Linked DNA regions of Homo sapiens: regions 1 and 2 are each linked to region 3. Evidence: promoter capture Hi-C in human tissues and cell types (Jung and others, 2019). All regions are on one chromosome and are shown on one strand. Each heading gives the region's core, a stretch centred on a gene start or on the middle of the fragment in contact. The rest is flanking DNA. Distances are from core to core; before and after follow the strand shown. Region 1 overlaps KIF16B (kinesin family member 16B). Region 2 overlaps KIF16B (kinesin family member 16B). Region 3 holds the start of OTOR (otoraplin).

Region 1 (3,510 bases), core at 900-3,399, 240 kb after region 3:
AATAAAATTACTGAAGTCTGTTCTTTTTAAAATTATTCAAAACATTTTTCCCCAAGAAAAATGTAAAAAAAATTCTAACTCTTTGATAGAAAGGTACTACATAAATCCTGAAAATACATTAAAAAGTTAGAATTATATAGTTTATATAATTTACATATTTATAAACACACCGTATGCAGTTTTATAAGCTATGTAAGTTAACTGATATTAATGTTATACTTGCCCCAAAATACAGAGGAGTAAAAACTAGGAATTATTGCAAGAACTTTCTTGTTCTGTGTTTTCTCCAGATTTAGATCATTCTTCTGTTTTCTTTTTTTTTTTTTTTTTTTTTTTTTTTTTGAGATGGAATCTCACTCCGTCGCCCAGGCTAGAGGGCAGTGGTGCGATCTCAGCTCGCTGCAAGCTCTGCCTCCTGGTTTCAAGTGATTCTCCTGCCTCAGCCTCCCAAGTAGATTACAGGTGTGCACCACCACGCCCTGCTAATTTTTGTATTTTTAGTAGAGACGGGGTTTCACCATGTTGGCGAGGCTGGTCTCGAACTTCTGACCTTAGATGACCCGCCTGCCTCGGCCTCCCAAAGTGCTGGGATTACAGGCGTGAGCCACTGTGCCTGGCCTGTTTTTTTTTTTTTTTTTTTTTTTTCTTATTTCTTAGTGAGAGCTCTGTTCATTGCCTGCCAAACCTGTGGCATTTTTGAGATGTAGAGACACTAGTGGAAGATGATTGAGGGCTTCCTGCTGGCACACATGTGGTGTCTGTAATGCTGAAGGTTTGGAGGTTCATGGAAGTCGTGTGTTAGAAGACAGATCTTTCCAGAATAAATTATTTCAGGACATGTAACCTCACTGCTTACATCCAGGCTCTTCCTTTACACAAGAAGTCAGTAAGTGCTGTTCGGGAAGTCTTCTCCGAAAAGGGAAGAACAAATGAGAGGAACAAACAGCTAATTTCGAGAGTTTCACATTTCCTTTTATCATTACTTCTCACTTCCTCCTTTCCTACTGTGCCTTTGGAAAAAAAAAACAAAACTTCCAAAAGTGAAATTTGTATGTTGATTCCCTAGTAACTATTTTATGTAAGTCAAACATTTATAAAGCACTCACAAATTACAAGTGTTTTTCTCCAATCTTATAGTTGAGTGCTGCTTGGGTATCCTTTCTTCATTTTAAAGTAAGAACCAAAAATACGACGTAAGACTCATTTTTCCTTGTTAAGAATTAGTACTGATTTAATGGTACAAAGAAAAAACAATCTCTGAACACAGTCATGCTTTCTTTTATTTTTTTGGGTGTGGGGGTTGAGTGAAGGTAGGGAGGGAACATGTGAATAAAGCATTGATGCTCTGCCTTGGTTTCCTAGCAAGATCATTTTGCCTGATTTTTACTATATTCTGAGGTTCATCAGCTTTTTAAGGTTGACTGAAACATGAACATTATTGAACGTTATACCCACATTGTATAAATAATATGGTGTATTAAAATTTTCCATCGAGGAAGGCCAGGGTAGGGGTTACTCTGTCAAAGGAGGGACATAGCATGTGGTTTTTTTTTTTTTTTTTTTTTTTTAAACGTAGTTTTGCTCTTGTTGCCTAGGCTGGAATGCAATGGCGCAATCTTGGCTCACTGCAACCTCTGCCTCCCAGGTTCAAGCGATTCTCCTGCCTCAGCCTACCCAGTAGCTGGGATTACAGGCATGTGCCACCACACTCAGCTAACTTTTTGGGTTTTTAGTAGAGACACAGTTTCACCATGTTGGCCAGGCTGGTCTCAAACTCCTGACCTCAGGTGATCCACCCGCCTCGGCCTCCCAAAGTGCTGGGATTACAAGTGTGAACCACCGCACCCGGCCAGCATGGATTTTAATGTGGTCTTGTTACCTAAGTTTTTAAGGCAATTATTAACTACCGTGGGGATTGCTAAGTTTTTCTTGGTGTTTTTTTGCCTGGTGTGTATTTCACCTACCTTGTTCATTTGAGCATGTATTTTTAACATTTATTGTACAGTTATAAACTGTCTTATTTAAATGTTAGAAATTAAGTTTCCTTGTTTGTAAGCCATGATTTAACTAACAACTGATAACCGTATATTATCAGAGTCCCAGCCTGTATAAATCAGAAGGCTCAATCATCTCATTTCAGAGAGTAGAAAGCAGCCCTGGAGGGGGTATATGGCGTGGGCTGTGGTAGGCCAGGGGTTGGCATACAGGTCACTTGAGTCTAACTTCATGCCAGCAAATTGCAAATTCAGTCATCAGTTGCTTTTATTTTGAGTGACAGCTGTGACATTGGTCTTTCCCATGCAGGGAGATTCTGGCTTAATACCTCGGATCTGTGAAGGACTCTTCAGTCGGATAAATGAAACCACCAGATGGGATGAAGCTTCTTTTCGAACTGAAGTCAGGTAGGGCCTGTGGCCTGGGTAACTGTGTGTGAGCTTGATTAGAGTCAATGCTGGTTGGCCTGCATTTAGGTGCTGGAAATGGATAAGGTCTTTAGATTCCTAAAGAAAAAGTCTTCCCTTTTCCCCTCCTGTGATTATGGTTTGGGGATAAAGCTTAAAACACATAAGTTTTTAGTGATTTTCTTGGGTACAGTTTGGATAAAGATTTGGGAGCTGGCAGAAATAACAGCTTGGGCAGAAACTAATGTGGGATGTTCATCTCAAATGGAGTGAGCTTCTGACTTTTAAGTGTATACCAATTACTTGCTTCATTCTTTTAGCTTAGTAAGGTTTATATTATTCTTTGTGTTGGTTGGATCATTATAAATCTAATCTACAAGTAAATCTGAGTGGTTGAGGTGCTTTTTCCTCCTTGAAATTAAACCTGTGAGGGGAGCCAGTCTCTTCGGTAGTTTCAAGGGCAGACATGGCAATATAGGATTTTTACACCTACTTGACTGCTTTGTGGTCTTGGACAAGTTATTTGAATCACACTAAACCTCCCTTGCCTAACCTATAAAATGAGGATAGTAGTGGTACCTATCTCTGGGTATTGTGGAGATTCAATGAAATAATCCATGTCTAGTACTTAGCATGGTACAGGAAGTCCTCACTTAATGTACCTTCCTTTTTTTTTTTGGAGATGGAGTCTTACTCTGTCACCCAGGCTGGGGTGCAGTGGCACACTCTTGGCTCATTGCAACCTCCACCTCCCAGGTTCAAGTGATTCTCCTGCATCAGCCTCCTGAGTAGCTGGGATTACAGGTGTCCGCTACCACACCCAGCTAATTTTTATATTTTTAGTAGATGTGGGGTTTCACCGTGTTGGTCAGGCTGGTCTTGAACTCCTGACCTCAAGTGATCCATCTGCCTCGGCCTCCCAAAGTGTATTACAGACGTGAGCCACCACCCCTGGCCTAATGTCGCTTCTTGATACAGTCTTGGAAATCGTGACTTTAAGTGAAACAACATATAATGAAACCAGTTCTTTTTCTCGTCAACATTATAGCAATATGATGTTGAAGGAAGCATTGTTATTTGAGGACCCACTGTATGTCCTTTCCCTTAA
Region 2 (3,947 bases), core at 84-2,583, 200 kb after region 3:
ATAAATTAAAATAGAAAGTTAAAACATAGGAATATATAAGCACATATTTCCTTAGCTATCAGAAATGTGAGTGTGAAAAAGACAAATAATATGCTGGTGTCATAATGAAAATAATTTTAACCTTGCAGAGCCCCCCAAGACCTTTAAAAACCTCTGGGCTGCGTGTCAGGATACAGTGGTCTCCAAGCTAGGCACAGTTCTTGCCTTTGTTGTACTGGATGCTGTGGTGCTGTGGAAGCCCATGGTGGGGGGTTGGGTCTAACAGACTTGTGGCATCAGGAAGGGTACTTGGAGAGACAGACCTGAAGTGGAGACTAGCCTGGGACAACAGGTGTAGTGGTGGATGGAGCAGCATGTGGGAGGCCCAGAGGCCTCACCTGAAAACCTCAACGAAGCTCATAATGGCTGCGTGTTAATATTGCATATGCTGGGATGATACCAGCAGTTTGAGTTCTCTGGCTTCAGCGTGATATGATTTTATCCACTTGTTTATTTTCAGAGGCACATGTAGCTGTTCTCAATTCCCTTCTCTGTATGACTTATAGGAAGCTAAAGGCTTCCTTGTGTTAGGGAGCTTCCTATTTCAAGTGCTGAGCTGGGTTTGTCAAGCTTTGAAAATGCAGACAGAGCCATGAAACCTAAGGGGGACTCAGAGGAAGTGTCCATGTGCAGGAGAGACAAGGCTGAATTAAAAGGCATGATTAATCACAAAAGAGTGGAAGAGTGATGCTTGAGAGTTGAGGACGTGAGTAAAACAGAAGTAGAACTGCTCATTTGATGTCATCACGTTATCTCAAGATGAGCCCTCTTGGCCTCAGACAGTGGGTAGCATTACATTATATGTTAGCTCCGCGCCCCCACGCCCACCCTCCTTCTTTGAAATGATGTCTAAATTAGAGGTGTAACTGTCCCACCAGGTGCAACTTGAGCCTTCCTTTGCCCTCCTGTAGCTGTCGTGGGAGGGGGGCCTGCTTTCTTGGGCACAGACTGTTTGGTCAGCTGAGCCACAGAAATGAGGCCAGGCCTGTGTTGCTCTCTGTCTATGCTTGATTGCAAGGAACACTGATGATATCAGAGGGCTTTCTTACCTCAAGCCCTTCTGGCTTAAGGACAAGGTTATTTCTTTCATTTCTGTCTGCAAACTGTGGTAGTGTATTCGATTTCAAGGATTCTGGGATGAATTCTTCAATGATAAGAACCTGCTATTATTGTCCCTGCTTTACAGCTCCAGGGATTGGCAGCCTCATTCTTCAAAAGTTGCACACCTTTAGGGCCTTGGGAGGTACAGGCACCAGCAAGGAGTCAGAAGGAATGAAAGCTGGAGAGATGCGGCCCACACTGGAAAGACAGGAGGAAAGGAGAGAGAAAGCGCCTCGGCCAGGCACAGTGGCTCATGCCTGTAATCCCAGCACTTTGGGAGGCTGAGGCGGGAGATCACCTGAGGTCAGGAGACTGAGACCAGCTTGACCAACATGGTGAAACCCCATCTCTACTAAAAATACAAAACTAGCCGGGCATGGTGGCGAGTGCCTGTAATCTCCGCTACTTAGGAGGCTGAGGCAGGAGAATTGCTTGAACCAGGAGGCGGAGGTTGCAGTGAGCTGAGATCGTGCCATTGCACTCCAGCCTAGGCAACAAGAGCAAAACTGCATCTCAAAAAAAAAAAAAAAAGAAGAGAAAGCCCCTCACTGGTGGTTTCTTCACTAAATCCTAAATAAGAAATTAGAAAACCTGGACAGTCAAACCTAATGTGCTCCTAGCTGGGTTAAATCATGTTTTGTTCAAAGTAAGCTTGATTATTTTCATCACATCAGCCAGCATTTTCATTCCTGTGTTTTGAGAGAAGTGGGAAATCCAGGCTCTCATGTAAAATATTATTTTAAATATGTTGGCAACTAATTAAAAATGTTTTAGAACACCCGTTCTAGCCCTGGGATGCTATTTTAAAACTTCTAGTTTAGAATGCATGTTTCGGCCAGGCGTGGTGGCTCATGCCTGTAATCCCAGGACTTTGGGAGGTCATGGTGGATCACTTGAACCCAGGAGTTTGAGTCCAGCCTGAGCAATGTGGTGAAAACCCGTCTCTACAAAAAATAGAAAAAATTAGCTGGACATGGTGGCATGTACCTGTAGTCTTAGCTACTTGGGAGGCTGAGGTGGGAGGATCATCTGAGCTTAGGGAGGTTGAGGCTACAGTGAGCTCTGATCGCACCACTGCACTCCAGCCTGGGTGACTGAGTGAACCCTGTGTCAAAAAAAAAAAAAAAAAAAAAAAGAATGTTTCATGTGTTTTAACAAGCTCTCTAGGGGGAAAAAAAACGAAAATGATATTTCTAGTTCTAGATCTAGATCCCTGAGGAATCGCCACACTGACTTCCACAATGGTTGAACTAGTTTACAGTCCCACCAACAGTGTAATAGTGTTCCTATTTCTCCACATCCTCTCCAGCACCTGTTGTTTCCTGACTTTTTAATGACTGCCATTCTAACTGGTGTGAGATGGTATCTCATAGTGGTTTTGATTTGCATTTCTCTGATGGCCAGTGATGATGAGCATTTTTTCATGTGTTTTTTGGCTGCATAAATGTCTTCTTTTGAGAAGTGTCTGTTCATGTCCTTCGCCCACTTTTTGATGGGGTTGTTTGTTTTTTTCTTGTAAATTTGTTTGAGTTCATTGTAGATTCTGGATATTAGCCCTTTGTCAGATGAGTAGGTTGCGAAAATTTTCTCCCATTTTGTAGGTTGCCTGTTTACTCTGATGGTAGTTTCTTTTGCTGTGCAGAAGCTCTTTAGTTTAATTAGATCCCATTTGTCAATTTTGTCTTTTGTTGCCATTGCTTTTGGTGTTTTGGACATGAAGTCCTTGCCCATGCCTATGTCCTGAATGGTAATGCCTAGGTTTTCTTCTAGGGTTTTTATGGTTTTAGGTCTAACGTTTAAATCTTTAATCCATCTTGAATTGATTTTTGTATAAGGTGTAAGGAAGGGATCCAGTTTCAGCTTCCTACATATGGCTAGCCAGTTTTCCCAGCACCATTTATTAAATAGGGAATCCTTTCCCCATTGCTTGTTTTTCTCAGGTTTGTCAAAGATCAGATAGTTGTAGGTATGCGGCGTTATTTCTGAGGGCTCTGTTCTGTTCCATTGATCTATATCTCTGTTTTGGTACCAGTACCATGCTGTTTTGGTTACTGTAGCCTTGTAGTATAGTTTGAAGTCATACCATTTGACCCAGCCATCCCATTACTGGGTATATACCCAAAGGACTATAAATCATGCTGCTATAAAGACACATGCACACGTATGTTTATTGCGGCATTATTCACAATAGCAAAGACTTGGAACCAACCCAAATGTCCAACAATGATAGACTGGATTAAGAAAATGTGGCACATATACACCATGGGATACTATGCAGCCATAAAAAATGATGAGTTCATGTCCTTTGTAGGGACATGGATGAAATTGGAAATCATCATTCTCAGTAAACTATCGCAAGATCGAAAAACCAAACACCGCATATTCTCACTCATAGGTGGGAATTGAACAATGAGATCACATGGACACAGGAGGGGGAATATCACACTCTGGGGACTGTGGTGGGGTAGGGGGAGGGGGGAGGGATGGCATTGGGAGATATACCTAATGCTAGATGACGAGTTAGTGGGTGCAGTGCACCAGCATGGCACATGTATACATATGTAACTAACCTGCACAATGTGCACATGTACCCTAAAACTTAAAGTATAATTAAAAAAAAAACTAACGAAAAAAAAACATAAAAAAAAAAAACCGAAAATGAGTATTTTAAAATTCTTTTCCTTTATTTACTTTATTTAAAACTCCTTATTTACTTTAGACCATTTCCCTTTGCTGCTTTTCTACAGCATTAGTGTTTTCAGTATTTTGGGGAGGCATCTTCCAGTGGTCTTCGTCTCGTTGTGCCA
Region 3 (3,764 bases), core at 1,189-3,688:
CTCCAGAAGAATCACTTCAAAACAAGCACCTTGCAAAGTAGCTCAGAAAGCATCTTTTATTTCTGTCCTGAGTTTACAGGACCCCAGGGCATTAGGAAGAGTATAACTTTATTTCATACATAAATAGAATCTATTTACCACAAAAATAAGACATTCAAAGATTGTTCTAGAATATTTCGATTTGATCAAAAACATAATAATTTTTTTTCAGCCTATCTTTAGTGAAAACCATCTGTAAGAGTCAGTGCTGACTTTGGTTTCTTTATTTGTTACATAGACTGCTTTGCAAGACAACTTGCATCTAAAACAAAAGAGGTACTGTATTGTATACTTGAAATTTACTAAGAGGGCAGATCTTAATGTTTTCACACACACACACACACACACACACAAAGGTAACTATGTGAGGTGATGTATGTGTTAACTAGCTTGAATGTGATGATCATTTCACAATGTATATCAAAACATAATGTATGCATTAAATGTATGCAATTTTTATTTGTCAATTATAACCCAATAAAGCTGAAAAAATATAGAAAAAAGATGAGACAAAAAGTAGTAAACTGAAATAAAACAAAAGGGGGTGGTATAGAGAAAGTTTACTCATCTTTCAACTTTGACAGTAGTTATAAATGGTCCCCCAAACCTCATTATCTCAGAAAAGTCGCCACTGAAAGTTGGAGGCTTTGTTCTATACAACTTGTAAGTTGCATGATGCATTTTTAACACCGGCCTACATTGCCCCAAGATCTGAGTCCTTGTCTAGTCACTTTTGAGATGCTTACCGTGGTGGGAACTTCCTTGGTAGCTTCCTGGTACACACGCTGTTCCTTGACCAAGTTCCTGGGGAAATAACCCACGACTCCCATCTCGTCCTGGCCATCACCATAAACCTAAGTGCCCAGAAGAATAGCAATCAGGAAAAAGCTGATGCTGAGTGTCTTCTGAGAAACTCGCAGGCGTCCTCTTTGCTGATAGTGAGAATCATAGCTGCCAATACCTCCCTTTCACTCCGGGGTCCAGGGGGCGCTGCGGCAAATCCGAAGTTTACTTGGAGCACTAAGTTAACCCGCAGGAATTGTGCATCTACTGTTTAGTGGCCCAGTCTTATTTCGCTACTTTAGCATGACTTTATTTTACGCAATCTTGTGAGTTGCCTGAAATCTTTTTTGAACCCATAAATAAATATATAAAGACAGTACATTTTTTTAAAGTACTGTAGACACTTATTTTAAATGATGCAAATTTCTCAGTTTTCAACAATTCAAATGAACAGACTTAAATGGCTTTAAATTTAATCCTTCATTAATTTAGAACTTACCTTTAGGGTTGCAGATGAGGACAGAAAATCATCCCTGCTTCATCCCTCCCCAGGGACCGCCCCTGTATATTTTAACTGAAGAACGCTGATTCTTTCGAATTAATTAGGGTGCAAAGTTTCCTAAAAGAATATTGATACTTAGACTCACTGCCAACACACATGCCTTCTACTTGGCAAATCTTCTCAGACGTTTTCGGATAAGATTCAAATTCTTTGGGATGTTTAAGCCCCCATGTATTTGACTCTTTTTTTACCAAAATATCACATTAACCTACATTTGGTTTTGTTACGAAATTGATCTTTCTTTCTTTAAAATGCAATAGCAAATATACCTGAATTTTTGCATTTCCATCTACAATCACTACATGGTTCTTAACAACTAGTATTAAGCATTAAAATAGGTTGAAGGTAGGTAATCAAGGAAAGGTTAAGAGCAATATTCGTCAATAGGTGTTTAAATTATCTTACACTGCCAGCCCAAAATTCTCCAGCTCCATTTTCTTTTACCAGCTTTGAGTACACATAGATCTGCTGCCCTTTTTTAACGTTAATGAATCTACAGTCCGGGGCATTATAATCTTCTTGAGCACTAGCCAGAGAAATAGTATCTGGAAGAAAAAAAATTTAAATGATTACATTTTAGGCTCCTGAATTTTATAACAGTAAAAGGCAATGTATATTAGAAAAACTAGAAAATCAGAGTGACTGATAATTCCCAGTTCATAGCTGGTGTCTATCCAAGAGAAAGAAGACAGCCAAGATATTAAAGCTGCAACAAAACTCAGCCAAGTGAATTCTCCGTAGTAAGATACCAAACATGCAGACCAGAAGAAACAAAGCTGATAACATACACATTGGAGAAGATTCACTTCAAAGTATAATTCGATTTTATGCTATTAGTGGATATATTTTCAATTATGTAATAGAAAGATAATGAAAAGCATAAAAAAGTCCTTACAGACACACTCATCATCTGCACAGAGCTTCTTGGAAGCTAGACGGTCCATAAATATTCCATGCACAGCACATACAGCCACAAGACCCGGGAGGAAAAGTAACAATATTCTTGCCATCTTCCTTTTTTCTGTTTTAACTTGAACTCTGACTGGAAGCGGGGACTGACTTCAGTGGTTCCTGCCTTTTATGTGAAAGCCAGAGCTCTGGGTAAATACCCTGGCCAATTAGAAGGGCCTACCACCCCTCCGTTTTCATAACAGGCTGCTCGGCTTCAGGGGCTATTTAGCGTCTGATTTTCCAAACAGAGTCAAACTCTGTGTCTTTCTATACACAGATAATATCCAAAATGGTCCACTATTGTTAAAGCCGCTTTAGCAGTGGTCTATTGTATCAATCAGTAGGGCTTTGCTGAGAGGACTATGAGAATTTCAAACCATTTTTAGTTTTAATTCACCCCTAATTTTCCTTCAGCTTATGAGCAAAGACATACTAGTTGTAGGAATTTGTTGAAAATGTGAGATCTATAGCACAAATAATTTGATTTAAACAAATTCAATTAATAAATCTGGATTTACGTAATAGATAAATGAAAGATTCTTATGCTTACAAATCTTTCATGATAGGATTCTTAGAAGGCATGCCTGTCCCAGGCTAGAGATGAATTCTAACATACTAATTGATGCCCCATTTAGACCCTACCAGTGGGGAAAGAGATGGGTGGGTTGGGAAAAATAGGTCAATCTTTCCCCTACCTCTTCTCTCTAAGACTTTTGCAATTCAGTCTCAAATGCTCAAGGGTGACAGGTCAAAGAGAAGAGAGTGAAGTTACAAGTTTATGTTACCTGGAACTTCCTGCTTCTGAGCATGTTTCCCATGGGGAGAGGAGCACTCCTAGAGGCACCAAAGTGGAACCGCCAGTCCCTAGCTCCGTCTATTCAGCAAATATTTACTGAGCACTTACTGTGCCAGGTATAGTTCTGGGCACTAAAGATATAGCAGTAAATTTAAAAAAAATATTTTGGCCCCAAGTGTTGCTTTCTATTAGAAGAGACAGACAGTAAGTTACTGCTTTTTATAGGGTGTTTGAGGCTGGCATCTCTCCCATAAGGTGGCCCTTCCCCTGTTCTTATCCATTGCTTCTAGAATAGAGATCCTCTCAGGATGCCTTCTCCACCTTGGTTGATGATGTGACTTCGGAGCAGTGCCTTCTCCCCCAACCCCAAAGTCGTAACCTCATAAAATGAGGGACAAGAATTTAACTTACTAAATAATTTTGTGCAATACAATTTCCCAAGGGATAAATGGGTAAGGCAAAATATAATAAAAAGGTTTTTTGTTTTGGGTATATGTGTGTGTGTGATAGAGTTGTATTGGTTTGAGTGCATCTGTGTGTGTATGTAAAAGAGTTTTGGTGTGGGTATGGGTGTGGGTATGTGTGGCTGTGTGTGAGTGTGTGTGTGTGGCTGTGTGTGTATGTGTGTGTGAC

The links. The method cuts DNA at HindIII sites, captures the fragments that hold promoters and counts their contacts. A contact is called where the count stands out against the background at its distance.
Region 1: a fragment that was not itself captured here is called in contact with the fragment with the promoter of OTOR in region 3 in 1 of the 25 tissues and cell types used here (pancreas).
Region 2: a contact is called between a fragment that was not itself captured here and the fragment with the promoter of OTOR in region 3, in 2 of the 25 tissues and cell types used here (heart right ventricle and hippocampus).

The regions. Positions count from the first base shown.
Region 1 is chr20:16,511,718-16,515,227 of GRCh38, reverse strand. It overlaps KIF16B (kinesin family member 16B), which reads left to right. Exons shown (of 26, transcript NM_024704.5): 5 at 2,305-2,402. Among named protein-coding and RNA genes, the nearest start is that of KIF16B, 60 kb to the left of the region's middle. The HindIII fragment of the contact is 3,147 bases long and covers 576-3,510 here.
Region 2 is chr20:16,548,857-16,552,803 of GRCh38, reverse strand. All of the region lies in intron 1 of KIF16B (kinesin family member 16B), which reads left to right. Among named protein-coding and RNA genes, the nearest start is that of KIF16B, 23 kb to the left of the region's middle. The HindIII fragment of the contact is 5,263 bases long and covers 1-3,947 here.
Region 3 is chr20:16,747,032-16,750,795 of GRCh38, reverse strand. OTOR (otoraplin) reads right to left here and starts at 2,438. Exons shown (of 4, transcript NM_020157.4): 1 at 2,280-2,438; 2 at 1,790-1,929; 3 at 786-893. The coding sequence starts at 2,394. The HindIII fragment of the contact is 9,309 bases long and covers 1-3,764 here.